2 separate regions of the Homo sapiens genome follow, and region 1 is linked to region 2. Evidence: promoter capture Hi-C in 16 types of primary human blood cells and fetal thymus (Javierre and others, 2016). All regions are on one chromosome and are shown on one strand. Each heading gives the region's core, a stretch centred on a gene start or on the middle of the fragment in contact. The rest is flanking DNA. Distances are from core to core; before and after follow the strand shown. Region 1 holds the start of TLX1NB (TLX1 neighbor). Region 2 holds the start of NKX2-3 (NK2 homeobox 3).

The links. The method cuts DNA at HindIII sites, captures the fragments that hold promoters and counts their contacts. A CHiCAGO score of 5 or more calls a contact.
Region 1: a fragment that was not itself captured here is called in contact with the fragment with the promoter of NKX2-3 in region 2 in 1 of 17 cell types (naive B cells); the score reaches 9.6 in naive B cells.

Annotation. Positions count from the first base shown.
Region 1 is chr10:101,128,035-101,134,146 of GRCh38, reverse strand. TLX1NB (TLX1 neighbor) reads left to right here and starts at 3,001. Exons shown (of 3, transcript NR_130723.1): 1 at 3,001-3,361. TLX1 (T cell leukemia homeobox 1) reads right to left here and starts at 2,847. Exons shown (of 3, transcript NM_005521.4): 1 at 2,038-2,847. The coding sequence starts at 2,605. The HindIII fragment of the contact is 408 bases long and covers 3,984-4,391 here.
Region 2 is chr10:99,528,187-99,534,256 of GRCh38, reverse strand. It overlaps NKX2-3 (NK2 homeobox 3), which reads right to left and starts at 1,315. Exons shown (of 2, transcript NM_145285.3): 1 at 768-1,315. The coding sequence starts at 1,125. LINC01475 (long intergenic non-protein coding RNA 1475) reads left to right here and starts at 3,080. Exons shown (of 5, transcript NR_120618.1): 1 at 3,080-3,245; 2 at 5,573-5,667. RefSeq lists an enhancer at 1,094-1,985. The HindIII fragment of the contact is 5,996 bases long and covers 1-1,785 here.

The sequences.
Region 1 (6,112 bases), core at 2,938-5,437, 1.6 Mb before region 2:
GAGGGCCACTGGAGCGGGAGACAGACAGACGGCAGAGGCAAGCAGCAGAGCGTCAGGAAGCGTCCCAGGCCCAACACCCCGCGAGTCAGCGAGCGCAGCAGCTGAACCCCCACGAGCAGGGCCGAGATCCTCCCGTTAGCCCTCAGCGACAAGCCCACGGCGGGAAACGGCCTCCTCCTGCCCGCCAGTCCGACGCCGCCGTCGCCGCTACCACGGAGGCCTCCCTGGCCCCGGGCTCCCGCGAGCCCAACCACCTCCCTGCCGCCTCTCCTCCAGGGGCAGTCTAAGGCGAGCTAATGGTCACGCTCCCCTCCCCTCAGTCAGCCCCAGGCCTTCAGGCTCAGAGTAAGAGGCCGAGCCTGACTCTGGAACCCGACCTGAGCCTCCATCCACAGCAGCACACACCAACACAACGTACAACGGGGGCAAACTCACAGATCTATACACCCAAACAGGACCAGACAAGCACAGGCACGGGACAAGCACACAGGACACAGAGCAAAACAAGGCCACAGCCATACACTCGCTGAAACCGCCTTCATGCCTGACACAGTATTAGGGCCCCGCGGTAGGCCCTAAACCGAGTACCTTTCACCAGAGGCCCAGGATTAGTGGACTCCCGGCTGGGTTTCCAGCAGGGCCCTTCAAGACTGGCCTGGCCTGGGTGGGGAATGGGATGGGCACCAGGCCCTGCTGCCCCAGGCCAGAGAAAACTTAGGTTGGGGGCACTGGGACCCCTCTAGGGAGGGCCCTTCCTGAGGCCTAGACCCAAGCAACTGTTCTTCCTCTGGACACCAGCCTCCACACCACTTCTGCCGTGGCCCCAGAGTCTGGTAAGAAGCTGCAGAAGCAGTTTCCCTGGCTGTGCTGCTGCCTGGAACAGAAGCAGGAAGCCAGGGGTGCTTTGGAATCTCCTGGCCCAGTATCTAGCTCTCAGCAGCTTCTCCCAAGTAGTTATGTAAACCCCCCTTCCACTGTTGGGCCCTTGAACCGGGGGACCCCCAGGAGGCCCCATCTCTGCCAGCAGCAGCCAGTGCCTCCTGCCTCCTCTCTCTAAGATCGGCTGGCTAACCTGGGCTCAATTTGTGGCTGCTTCCCAGCCCGGACGGAAGGATCGTGGTCTAGGATCCAGGGAACCCTAAGGGGAGCAGAAAGTGAGAACGGGGGAAGGGATCCACGCCAGAGGGAGAGTTGAGTGCCCAGAGTGGAAACGGGAGCAGAGGGAGCCAGGGCCAGCAGAGGAAGGCGGGAGCGGGCAGCAGAGAAGGCGGCAGCGGCCACCACTTAGTACCCAATGTCCCGGGAGTAGTCTTCCCGCCACCGATCACCAGCCTACCGGTGCATTGTTCGTGCCCAAGATAACAGGGCTGGGCCCGGGGTAGGACACCCAGCCGGGAGAGAACGAAAATGAAAAGCTAGCTGTCCTGGGCGGCTAAGCCCCGCTGCCATCCTCCCAGATGAAGCCTGCTCTCCGGAAAAAAAAAAAAAGGCCACTGGTTCTGCTGATTTACCGGGGCTCAGAGCCCCCACTGGCCCCGCAGCACCACGGGCACCGGAGCTAGGGGCGCGAAGTGCATGTGTGTAGGGGACTGGAGGTGGGGGAACCTGTTCTTTTCTTGTGTCTGATCCTGGGGCTCGCTTCCTGGGTCCTAGAACAGCAGCCAGGACGGAAGAAACTGTTCACGTTGCACCCCTTTCTCTAAGATTCCCAGGCCAAGAGTAGCTGCAGAAGGTGGTCCTGAATCTATGGCCTCCTTCTCTCTGCCTGACCCGGCTAGTGGATCCGGAGAGGGGACCAGGGAGAGCTCCTCCGAGCAGGGGTCCTTCGGGAGACAGAGAGGGGTCCAGGCTGAGAGAACTCTTCAAGCATGGCGAGTCTGCGTTATAGAATCGGGCGGGCGGCTCAACTTGGGGGAAGCACCAAGAAGAGCTGGGCGACCTGGAGCGCAGAACCGGCTTTGGGGAGCCACCCGGCGGGGCAGGGGTAGCACGGAGCCCGGGCCGCGGCCAGGCGGGGAGCGCGCGGGCCGGACTCACCTGTGAACCTGTCCTTTGTGTATCTGCGGTTACTCTCCATCCAGGGGAAGGTGAGGCCAGTGAGGTTGTTGACGCCCGGCATGGCAGGCACAGAGGGCACGGTGGGCAAGCCGGTGGCCAGGGGCTGGGGGTGGGCCACGGCTCCGGCGAGCGGCCTGTGTGCCGGCACCCGGATTACCCCCGCAGCGCTGAGTGCCCCGGCACCGCCGCTGCTGCCGCCGCCGCCGCCAGGACCGGGGCCGCCTGCCAAGGCCATGTTCACGTTGTAGGAGCCGGTCAGAGGACCCATGCTGCAGGCGCCGCCGCCGCCTGCCGGGCCTCCGGGGCCGCCGGGACCTCCAGTACCATAGGCCCCCGCTCCTCCAGCCCCCGTCGCGGCCGCGGAGCCCCCGCCGCCGTAAGTGTAGGCGCCTCCGACCAAGCAGCCAAGGCCGTATTCTCCGTCCTGGAGGCGCGAGGCGGGTCCCATGCAGCCACCCTGGTCCGGGCTGTTGAGGATCTGGTCGATGCCGAAGCTAATGGGCTCTGCGTGACCCGGGTGGAGGTGGTGCGGACCCAGGTGCTCCATGCTGGCCCTGGCCCCACCGGGGGGCCCGGGCGGCGGCGCTCGCTGCGCTCGGCTCGGGGGGCAGCTAGCAGGGGCTGGGAGGCAACAGCGGCTCCTGGCTGCGCGGAGACTTGGAAGCGAAGTGCGCAGAAAGGCTAAAGTAGAAGGGGGAGGGGAGGGAGAGAGGGGGCGCCGTATTCTTCCCCTCTCTGGCTTCTGCTTCCCCGCTCCGGCTGCTCGCTCGCTGTTGACTCTGGGACATCAATCACCAGGCGAAAAAGCCCGGTGCAAGAGAGCTTCGCGGTTTCGACTGGGTCTCTCCATTGGCTGTGCGCGGAGAGGAGCGGGGTGAATGACAGCGCGAGGGAGGGGAGGGGAGGGGGAGAGGAAGGCCAGAAGCCGAGACAGATGCAGGAGCCAGAGATAGAGGGACGGAGACCAAGACTCGGAGTAGTTCATGAAGAGAGAGAAGAGGGGAACAAGGCGAGGCTTAAAAGGAAAAGGGAAAACAGGAAGCGACCATTCCCAGAGACGGACAGACAGACAAACCCAAGGAGGGTGAAGTCAACTGTCTTCCCGGCCTGTTGGGAGCCCTCCCCTCACTTTGAACTGGGCCAAAGGAGTCCAGCCCACAAGGCGTCTGAGGAAGGGATGTCTCTGCCCAACTGGAGAATCTCCTCAAGGGCTCAGCTGCGAAACACCTGTCACTCAACCAGGAGATTTACTCCAAATTTCAAGTCCAGCTTTTTAGAAAGTAGAAGACTGTCTACTCCCCAGGTATGGAGCCCAGGCCCTGAGGCAGGACGGTGAGTTCAGGCTTGCCCTTCTTTAAAACACAGGCCTATGAACAACTGGCTATATGTTATAAAAATCAGCAACCACCCCCCAACTCAGCCTTCTTAGACAAATTCAGGAAGGGAACATATCCTGAAAGGCAGGCACAAGTCAAGAGGGTTGGTTTGGGGTCTGCTGCCAGGGTGCCCATGCCTCAACATACCCCTTTGGTTTTAAATAAACAGATGCGTCAAGAAGTAAAATCCTACAGGGTTCGAAAGAGGCAATTCCTACAGTGTTTGAATGAATTCAACCAGATTGCATTCCACCTAACAATTACCCCAGGGTTGGCTATTCCAGACAAGAAGCCTTTGGACTGTGGTGTGTGTTCTTTTCTTACGTTTGGAATCTTGGGAGGGAGCCATAGGGGCTTAAGGCCGTGGGGGCTGGGATTGGTGGGACTAGGATCAGGGAAGTGCATCCAGGACAAATTTAGGCCTTTCCAACGTTTTGCCAGTGGCTGTCTGGCTGAGAGCCCAAGAGAAAAGGAGGAAACTCCCTTTTTCTTCTTCCTGTCTTTCCCCTCTCCAGTAGAAAATGTTTGCTACCTTTTAGAAGCCAAGCTTTGGGAAAGGCACAGGTTCCATCACTTGGGATCTATTTCTGTTCTATTTCAGTTCAGTTTCAGATTAGACTTTTGGGTAGGCCCTGTCTCTATCTGGAAAGATGCTAGGATGTGAAGACTCACATTCTCTCCCATCAAGTCTTATTGCAATCTATTTGCTTTGGGCATGTCTGTCACCTCCACTTGAAGAGATCTTCTTGGAGGCAGAGAGTGGCTTATTCATTTCTGTTCTCTCCTGAAGAATACAGCCCCAAACAACAAAATATGGTCATCTTGGGTGAATAACAAAGAATGTATCTCTTTATTCAATAATATTTATTGAGTACTGTACTCACTATGTGTCAGGCACTGTTCTAGGCATGGGGGACATAGCAGTGAACAAAACAAAGGTCCTGACCTCATGAAGCTTACATTCTATAGAGGGGGTCAGACAATAAGCAAAGAAGCAAATACAACAAGACAGATGTTAGTATTATGGAGAACAATATAAACTCTACACCAATCCTTCGAGATGAGTATTCTCCCTATTTTACAGATGTGAGGAAAGTACATTTCAGAATAGCTATGATTGGTGTGGATCAATATGGAGGAGCTAGACTCAACTTGCTTTTGTGGGTTAGCCTGGAAACCTACGTGCTGGTTGGAAGTTTGTATCTGTGGGGAAAACCTTGTCTGAGCTCTAGCCAGGTGGACAAAGGCCCACTCAAGACAAAGCCAAATGTGAAATTGGTAGTTGTTTGTAAACACTAAGCAGAAGGCTGGGCATGGTGGCTCACACCTGTAATCCCAGCACTTTGGGAGGCCAAGGCGGGCAGATCACGAGGTCAGGAGATTGAGACCATCCTGGCTAACACGGTGAAACCCCGTCTCTACCAAAAGTACAAAAAATTAGCCAGGCGTGGTGGTGGGCACCTGTAGTCCCAGCTACTCAGGAAGCTGAGGCAGGAGAATGGCGTGAACCCAGGAGGCAGAGCTTGCAGTAAGCTGAGATCGCGCCACTGCACTCCAGCCTGGGCAACAGTGCAAGACTCCATCTCAAAAAACAAACAAACAAAAAAAAACACTAAGCAGAAACATGAGAGGGCTCCGCTCCCTCGCCAGTTCTCTTCTTCCCACTTACCCAATCCAGGTACTCTACCCCTTCCCAAGGAGTTCCATAACTTACTTTGGAAGTTGTCTGAACCCGAATGAATCTCTTCCTGCCTCTTATCTTGAGGGAACTAAAGCAGAAATAAATTATTTATTGAAAGACAGTTTTGTGCCAGGTACCACATCATGCTTATCTCATTTAAGACTTATAACAACCCAGGCAAGTTAATAGAAATGTCCCAATTTTTTATAATTGAGAGAATTGAATGAATGTTCATGGCAGTATTATTCATGATAGCCCAAAAGGGGAAACAACTCAGATGTCCACCAACTGATGAATAGATAAACAAAATTTGTTATATCCACACATGGAATATTATTTAGCCATAAAAAGGAAAAGAAGGGAAATGCTGGTTCATGCTATAACATGGATGAACCTAGGAGACTATTCTGCTAAGTGAAAGAAGCCAAGCACAAAGGCCACATATTGTATGATTCCACTTTTATGAAATGTCCAAAATAGGCAAATCCACAGAGGCAGAGAATAGATTAGTGGTTTTCAGGAACTGGGGGCAGCAGGGAATGGAAATTGACTGCTAATGGATACAGAATTCCTTTTGGAGTGATGAAAACATTCTGGAATGAGATAGTGGTGATGGTTACATAACTTTTAAAAATATTAAAACCCACCGAATTATACATTTTAAAGGGGCTGAATATTATAGCACATGAATTATATCTCATTTTTAAAAAGAAAAAAATGGCTGGGTGCAGTGGCCCGTGCCTGTAGTTCTAGCAGCTCTGCAGGGTGAGGCTAGAGGATCACTTGGGGCCAGGAATTTGAGCCTGAGATGTGCTATAATTGCACCTCTAGCCTGGGCAACATAGCAATGCCCCATCTCTAAAAAGAAAATGAAAACTGAGACTCAGTAAAGAGAACAAACTTGCTCCAAGTTCCATAGACAGAGAAGATTGATCTGGAATCTCAAAATCTGAGCTATTTTCCTTGTTTGAGGCTGAAAACTATGGGGAAGGGTACT
Region 2 (6,070 bases), core at 66-2,565:
CAATTCACTTCCCATCCGATGTGAGCAGCCAAGATCTCGGACTCAAGTTCGGCGCGTTTTCTATTAGGCCCGCAGCCTGGGACACAAAGCAAAACGTTACGGATTTTCAAAAAAGGCTGGCGCCTTAGGGATGTGAGAGCTATGGTCGCGCGGAATAGACATTGTTCCCACGCACTTTCCGATCATCTCCTCTCTCTCTACCGAGTGCCACGGGTTCAAGGACGCTGAGCTCCAAGCAGAGAAGGGAGGAAACCGCCCAGCTGGCCTCCACCAAAGTTCCTGCCCCTGCGGGTGCGAGAGACACAGGCTGCTTGGGCTGTCTTTTCGGAGAAGAAGGGGTGGCTGCCCTGGGCTAAGAGAACTCATCTCACCCTAGAGGGAAAACGAAAAAGGTCCAGGCTCCTGCCCTTTTTGGGGGAAGAGCCTTTTGGGGCGGGGGGAAGAGCAAAAATACTGCCAGTTATGAGGACCCAGGCGCTGAGCCCACGTCGCCTCTCAGCATCAGGGCAGCAGTAACCACCTTCCCTTCCCTCATTTCCCCCTTTTGGGGGGAGTAGTTGTCAGGGTCACCTCGTCCTTGTCTCTCCACCCCGGCTCCCTTGCAGGTACCTGCGCTTTGTGGAGCTGTCGGTGACCAGGGCGGAGGCATGGCCCCAGCCAAAGGGTAAAGGGATGGGCAGCTGCGCTGGCAAGGTCTGTGGGCTGTTTGTGTGCGCTCTGCCATTGCTCCAGGTGTGCGGGTGCGTTTTCTTTCCCCCTCTACTCACTTTGGCTCCGGTCCCTCACGACCTCGGGCTCCTCTTCATGTTCCTTGGGCTCGCTGCACGAGTCTCGCAGGACCGTGTGGACATAGCCCTGGGGACACAGCCCTGAATCCCCGTGGCCGTCTGCTGCGGCTAGTGAGTTCAAATAGGACAATTTCTCGCCCTCGTCTTCCTCGTCCTCCTCCCCTCCGTCAGAAAATTGCGTCCCCTCAGCGGCGGCCAGCATGCAGGGCGCAGAGTGGAAGTGGTGCTCCAAGTCCGCCTGCAAGTGCGCACCATGGAAGTGCTGGTGCTGCTGCTCCAGATTCAAAATGTCTTTGACTGAGAAAGGGGTGGAGGTGACCGGGCTTGGTAACATCATCAGGGCCACTTAATTGTCCAGTCCAAATAATAAATCCCGGCGGGGGCGGGGAGGCAGCGCGGCGGCTCCAGCTCTCCTCCTGGACTCCGCCGCTGCTGCCGAGTCGGGCTTTTGACAGACGCGGTCCCACTCCAGTCTAAATCGCCTCCATTGGCCGGGACCTGGGGGTCTGGGTTTTGTTACAGCCACTGCAGGGACTGGGGCCCGGGCTCCTAAGCCTCTGTCCGGGAGATTTGCGTCACGTTGGGGGGGCGGGGCTGGCGCCCCAACCTCCCTCCCTATAGGTTCTGGCTCATGTGGGCCACGCCCCCTGCTCTCTGCGAGTGGGATGTTGCGGCTCTACCAGAAATAGACAAGGACTAGTATAGAGTCCTGAAGTCCGAGACGCTGCGGGCGAGGCTGCACAGATCCGGTTCCTGAACCATTGATTCCCGCGTGGCTGCACCTTCCCGACCTAGGCCAGTTCTGGGAGGCTTGCTGTCCACGAACCAACGCCAGGGAAGGATGCCCCAGGAGTGTGTTTTTTTCAGCTGCTGCGCGGGGCAGGAAAACTTCCTGGCGGGTAAATACTGGGCGCTGGATCCACGAGGAGATGCAGTGTTTTATCTATCTATGGGTGGGCGACATGTCCTTTTTCAACTTGTTGCCTTTGCTCAAGCTTTCTCTCCACTTGGAACATGTTTCTGACACTTAGCCTCCACGAGTGGAAACTGTTCTCCAAGGAAGAGCTCCTAGATCGTCTAGCCGGAAGTCCCCTCTTTCAGGCTCTGAACCTGCAGCTTGTGTTAGCAAAGGACATGCATGTCACTTATCACTTCCCACTTAATTCTATAGCTGTATGTGCCTGCCTGGTCGCCCCAGTTAGACTGTAAGCTCCATGAGGGCAGTGTCCCGGGGTTGCTTTTGCCCTTGTATCCCTGGCAGCAGCCGCACAGAGCAGTATGTGAAAGGAAGATAGAGTTATGACTAAACTTTGGTATTCGACAGCTCTTGCTTGGCCTAGTCAGTGTGTGATCTTCGGCGTTTCTAAGTCTGTTTTCTCGTCTATAAAACGAAGGCAGTAATACCTTTTTTGGTTGTTGCTAGGGTTGAATGAGGCAAAACATGCCAGAATCTTAGTGCACGGCCTCACGCGTGTTAAGCGCTCAGTACGTGTCAACGACTGCTTTTCTGTATGGGAGGTCAAGCAGTGTTTGTTGACTGCATTGGTGGTGCGTGGCTGGAGTGTGGCACATACTGAGAGCAGGATCTGTCCTCACAAGGGAGGTGACCCAGCCTTGGCAGCCTTCTTTTCCACCTATTGAAATCAGGAGCCTGAATGTAGGCCTTGCCTCTCCGACAGGCTTTTAAAATTTCTCTACCTACACGCCTTCTGGCACCTTCATGAGGCCCTGGTTGTTTTCTGGGGGAGTCTATACAGTCCCCCACAGATTCTGGAAACTCTGAGCTGGAAACTCTGGGACCATCTTCTCCCACAATAGGCATTTGCTCGCTACCAGGCCTAGCCCAGTGAGGAGCAGCGGGCGCTGCTTTGAGGGCCACAGAAAGACCCGTGTGCAGCGCTGGCCTTAAAAAAATAGGGAACGGTTCCAGCTCAACCGTGGCTGTCCTCATCCGGCCCCAGCCAATCCAAGCATTTTTTGGCGGTCAGGATGGCGGAGCTGAAAGAGACCCGTCTCACCTGGAAGGGGCAGGTGAAAGGTGCAGGGACGGTGGACATTGCCTCCGAGCGGCATAAGACACCGGCTGGGAGTGGGTACGAGGGTGGAGGGCTGCCACGCGGGTCCCGCAACGGCGACAGGAGTGGGTGCCCAAGGTTGAAGGGAGAAAGAACAGCCTGTCGGGAGGTGGGAGAGGCGGGGCTCTGCAGAAGGGAGCGGAACTGTTGTGGAGAGGCAGCCCCTGGGTCCGCCCGGGGAGCTGGGATGCCGCGCGGGCCACGTGCGCCCCGGAGTACTTAGGGTAGCGGCGGCCCGCAGGCAGTAGGGAGAGACCCTCTGTGGGCAGGGTCTTGTGCTGGAACCGCCATTCCTCAGCCACAGGGGCGCCCGGTGTCTTTCTGCTTTAAATCCTGAAACTATTGACGCCCCAGGCGGAGACCAGTGTCTACAAACCAGGCGGTGAGTCTGCAGAGGGAGGAATGTGCCTGGTTTTGCCGTGGATCCCGAGCGCTCGGGCACAAAAATTCCGAGGTGGGGGCAGAGGGGTGCACGGCACTGCGGGGTGGCGGACCTCGAGTGTGTGTGCATCACGGTGGCCGCCGAGCATAAAAGCAGGAAGCTGAGCTCCAGCGCCACTTCCCCACCCCACCTCCGGGGCAAAACTGTCTCAGGGGAAATGTTTCTGCTCTCTTCTAGTCCCCAGTTTTCTTCTCCTCGGTGATTTCATGATTCTGGAAAAAGAAAAGGAGAAAGGCTATCGAAACAATCTCTCTCTCCCCAGTTTCCAACCGAAGCCTGCATTTCTCCTTGTTACATTCCCTTGCTTCCCATCTCGCTTCGCTCCTAGGCCTTTCATAAATCTAGCCCAACAATCCAGGTCTTAAAACTGCGACCAGGACAAAGCGCCCCTCCAGCGCCTGATCGCCAATACACGCCCACAGACGCTCTGCAGCCGCCGGAGCCCACCAGGGCGCCTCTGTGAGCTCATGCAGGGGGCTGTCTCCTCCCCACCAGCCGGCCCACGGGTGCCCCTCTACCCCAAATTCCGCCGCCCCAGCCGCTCCCGGGCCAGGTACCTTGCGCCAGGCCTAAGCGGTTGTCTCTTGAGGACCCTGGGCAGGTTGCTCCTCAGTAGGCCACCAGGGCCTGTGAGGACTTCCAGGCGAAGGGGCCTAGCGGGCGGCGCCTAGACCTTATCGCCGCTTCCTTTCCTCATACCCAGCCCAGTGTAGTGCTGTTCCAGCCTGCGGAAAACCTCTATCCGCTACCGCATCCCTAAGGTTGATCTGAGTTTTATGCCCAGAGCAGGAGTTTGGGTTGTCTCCAGCTACCCCCTCAGTATTGTTCAGACTCCCTTGGTCTGGTTCCCCAGTGGCGTGCTTCCCCGCAGGGATCCCCGCCAGGCCAATCTCATCTAGGTGGCCTCCTTTTCCCGCGCGCGCAGCCTGTACCCTCGACGGCCGCGGGCCTGAAAGGAGGAGAACTCGAGAGCCGTAGTTGTACAGCAGCAGTCGCTCCGCAGGAGTCTCTTATCAGAGTGGGATCTGGTTCCAACGCCTATCCAGTTACCATCGCCTTCTGGGGCATTTGCATTCTCTTGTCTGAAAAGTAGATCTTTGAAATCCTCGAGCTGTGCTCTACTAATAATAGGTTTTCGTTCCAGACAGTTTAGCTAATTACTGTCAGATAAAGTAAGTATGGCTGCATCCATGGAAGCGTTTGATTTTATTTTAATCGAGTGTATCTGCCTTCCTACCCTTTCATCACCTCATACATTTATACAAGCTCTCTCCCCCACCCTATGATTAAAGATCATCAGTAAATGGTGGCAAAGTCCTTGAAGGGGAAGTGCTGTATAGATGCCTAAACGTCTGTACCTTTTTTTTTTTTTAAGGAAAACCACATGCTAGCCATTACAATAAATGCATTATCAAATGAAAAATGTGACAATTTTTTGAAAACTGTTAAGTGTTCTCATAGCTGTTATTGTCTACACAAAGATTGCTTAATGCACATATAAATATAGGCAGATAATGGATAATTTTAGTTGTAAATGCCACTGCTTATCCCGTTGTCTCTCAACTTTTCAAATTGTCATTTAATTATGTAACCAAGGCTGCAAACAAGTTGAAAGTTATCGTGGCTTTCTAATCAAAATGTAACAATGTAACACTACAATCAGAAGAGATTTTTCTATTAAAGCCTGAAAAAATCATCCTGTGATGAACTCAGATAGCCAAAACATTTCAGGTGAATCTTTTCATTTTTTTAATTGCTCTCCTAGAAGTTTCATTTTCAATGTCAACTTATGAGAGAGAGACTCACTAAATGGGTTTTTGTTAATTTGTTGGTGGTAGTGATGGTGGCGGTGGTGGTGGTGGGTGTGTGTGTTTGTGTGTATGCGCAAGTGTGCTTTGCTTTGGTTTTTTGTTAAGGAATGTTAGAAAGCTATCCATTTTTTTTAAAGCAATTCAGAAGCAATAGCATTTTAATTGCGAGACGGGTGAATACATTTTGTGCTTTTAATGTCAACTAGGTTAGTGAGTCCTAGAAGGCATTAAACTGTTCTAATTTCTTGGGAGGTTTTTTTCTTGTCGAAGGAATTTCATAAAAGAGATTTTGAAATGCTGTTTTAAGCACTAGTTTGTTTTGCATGTGTTTGCAGGAATGCCAAATTTTCCTAGATTTTATTTGGAATTGAGTTTTCTAAATTAACCACTATTTCTCTTTCCTGGGAGAAAATTAGTCCGAATACAGTAATTTGTATAGTTCCTTGTAAATTACAGGTCCTTGCTGAGAATGTGACTTTCGATTTCTCAGGGAGAGGACTTCACAGCTATCTTTGTGGATCTGCCCCTCCAAAAATTTTAAAGATAAAAAGGTAAATTACCCTTTCTTTACCAAAACCAGTTCTGTTAATAAAACATGTCGAAAAGACTGTATCTTTGTTGAATGAAAATCAATTCAATATTTTTTCAAACGAAAAACACCTAAATAAAGGACTCCTGTATACAGACATTTATTTGTACTGTTTGCGTGTGCTATTTGGGCGTGCAGTGAGCAGTTTTAACTTGAGGATTAAATTGGAATTCTGAATGCATTCCTTAACTTTTTTTGTTGTTGCTAGCGTGCTTTTAACTTTCTGTAGCGAAATTTCAATGTGTATAAACTTTTAAAAATGTAATCTGACTTCAGAAGAGCGGCTGCTGTCTTGGGCAAATTAATTCATTCGAACCAAAGCGGCTGCCTGCTCTGTGCGGATTGCTGATTTTTAGTAGTGGGGT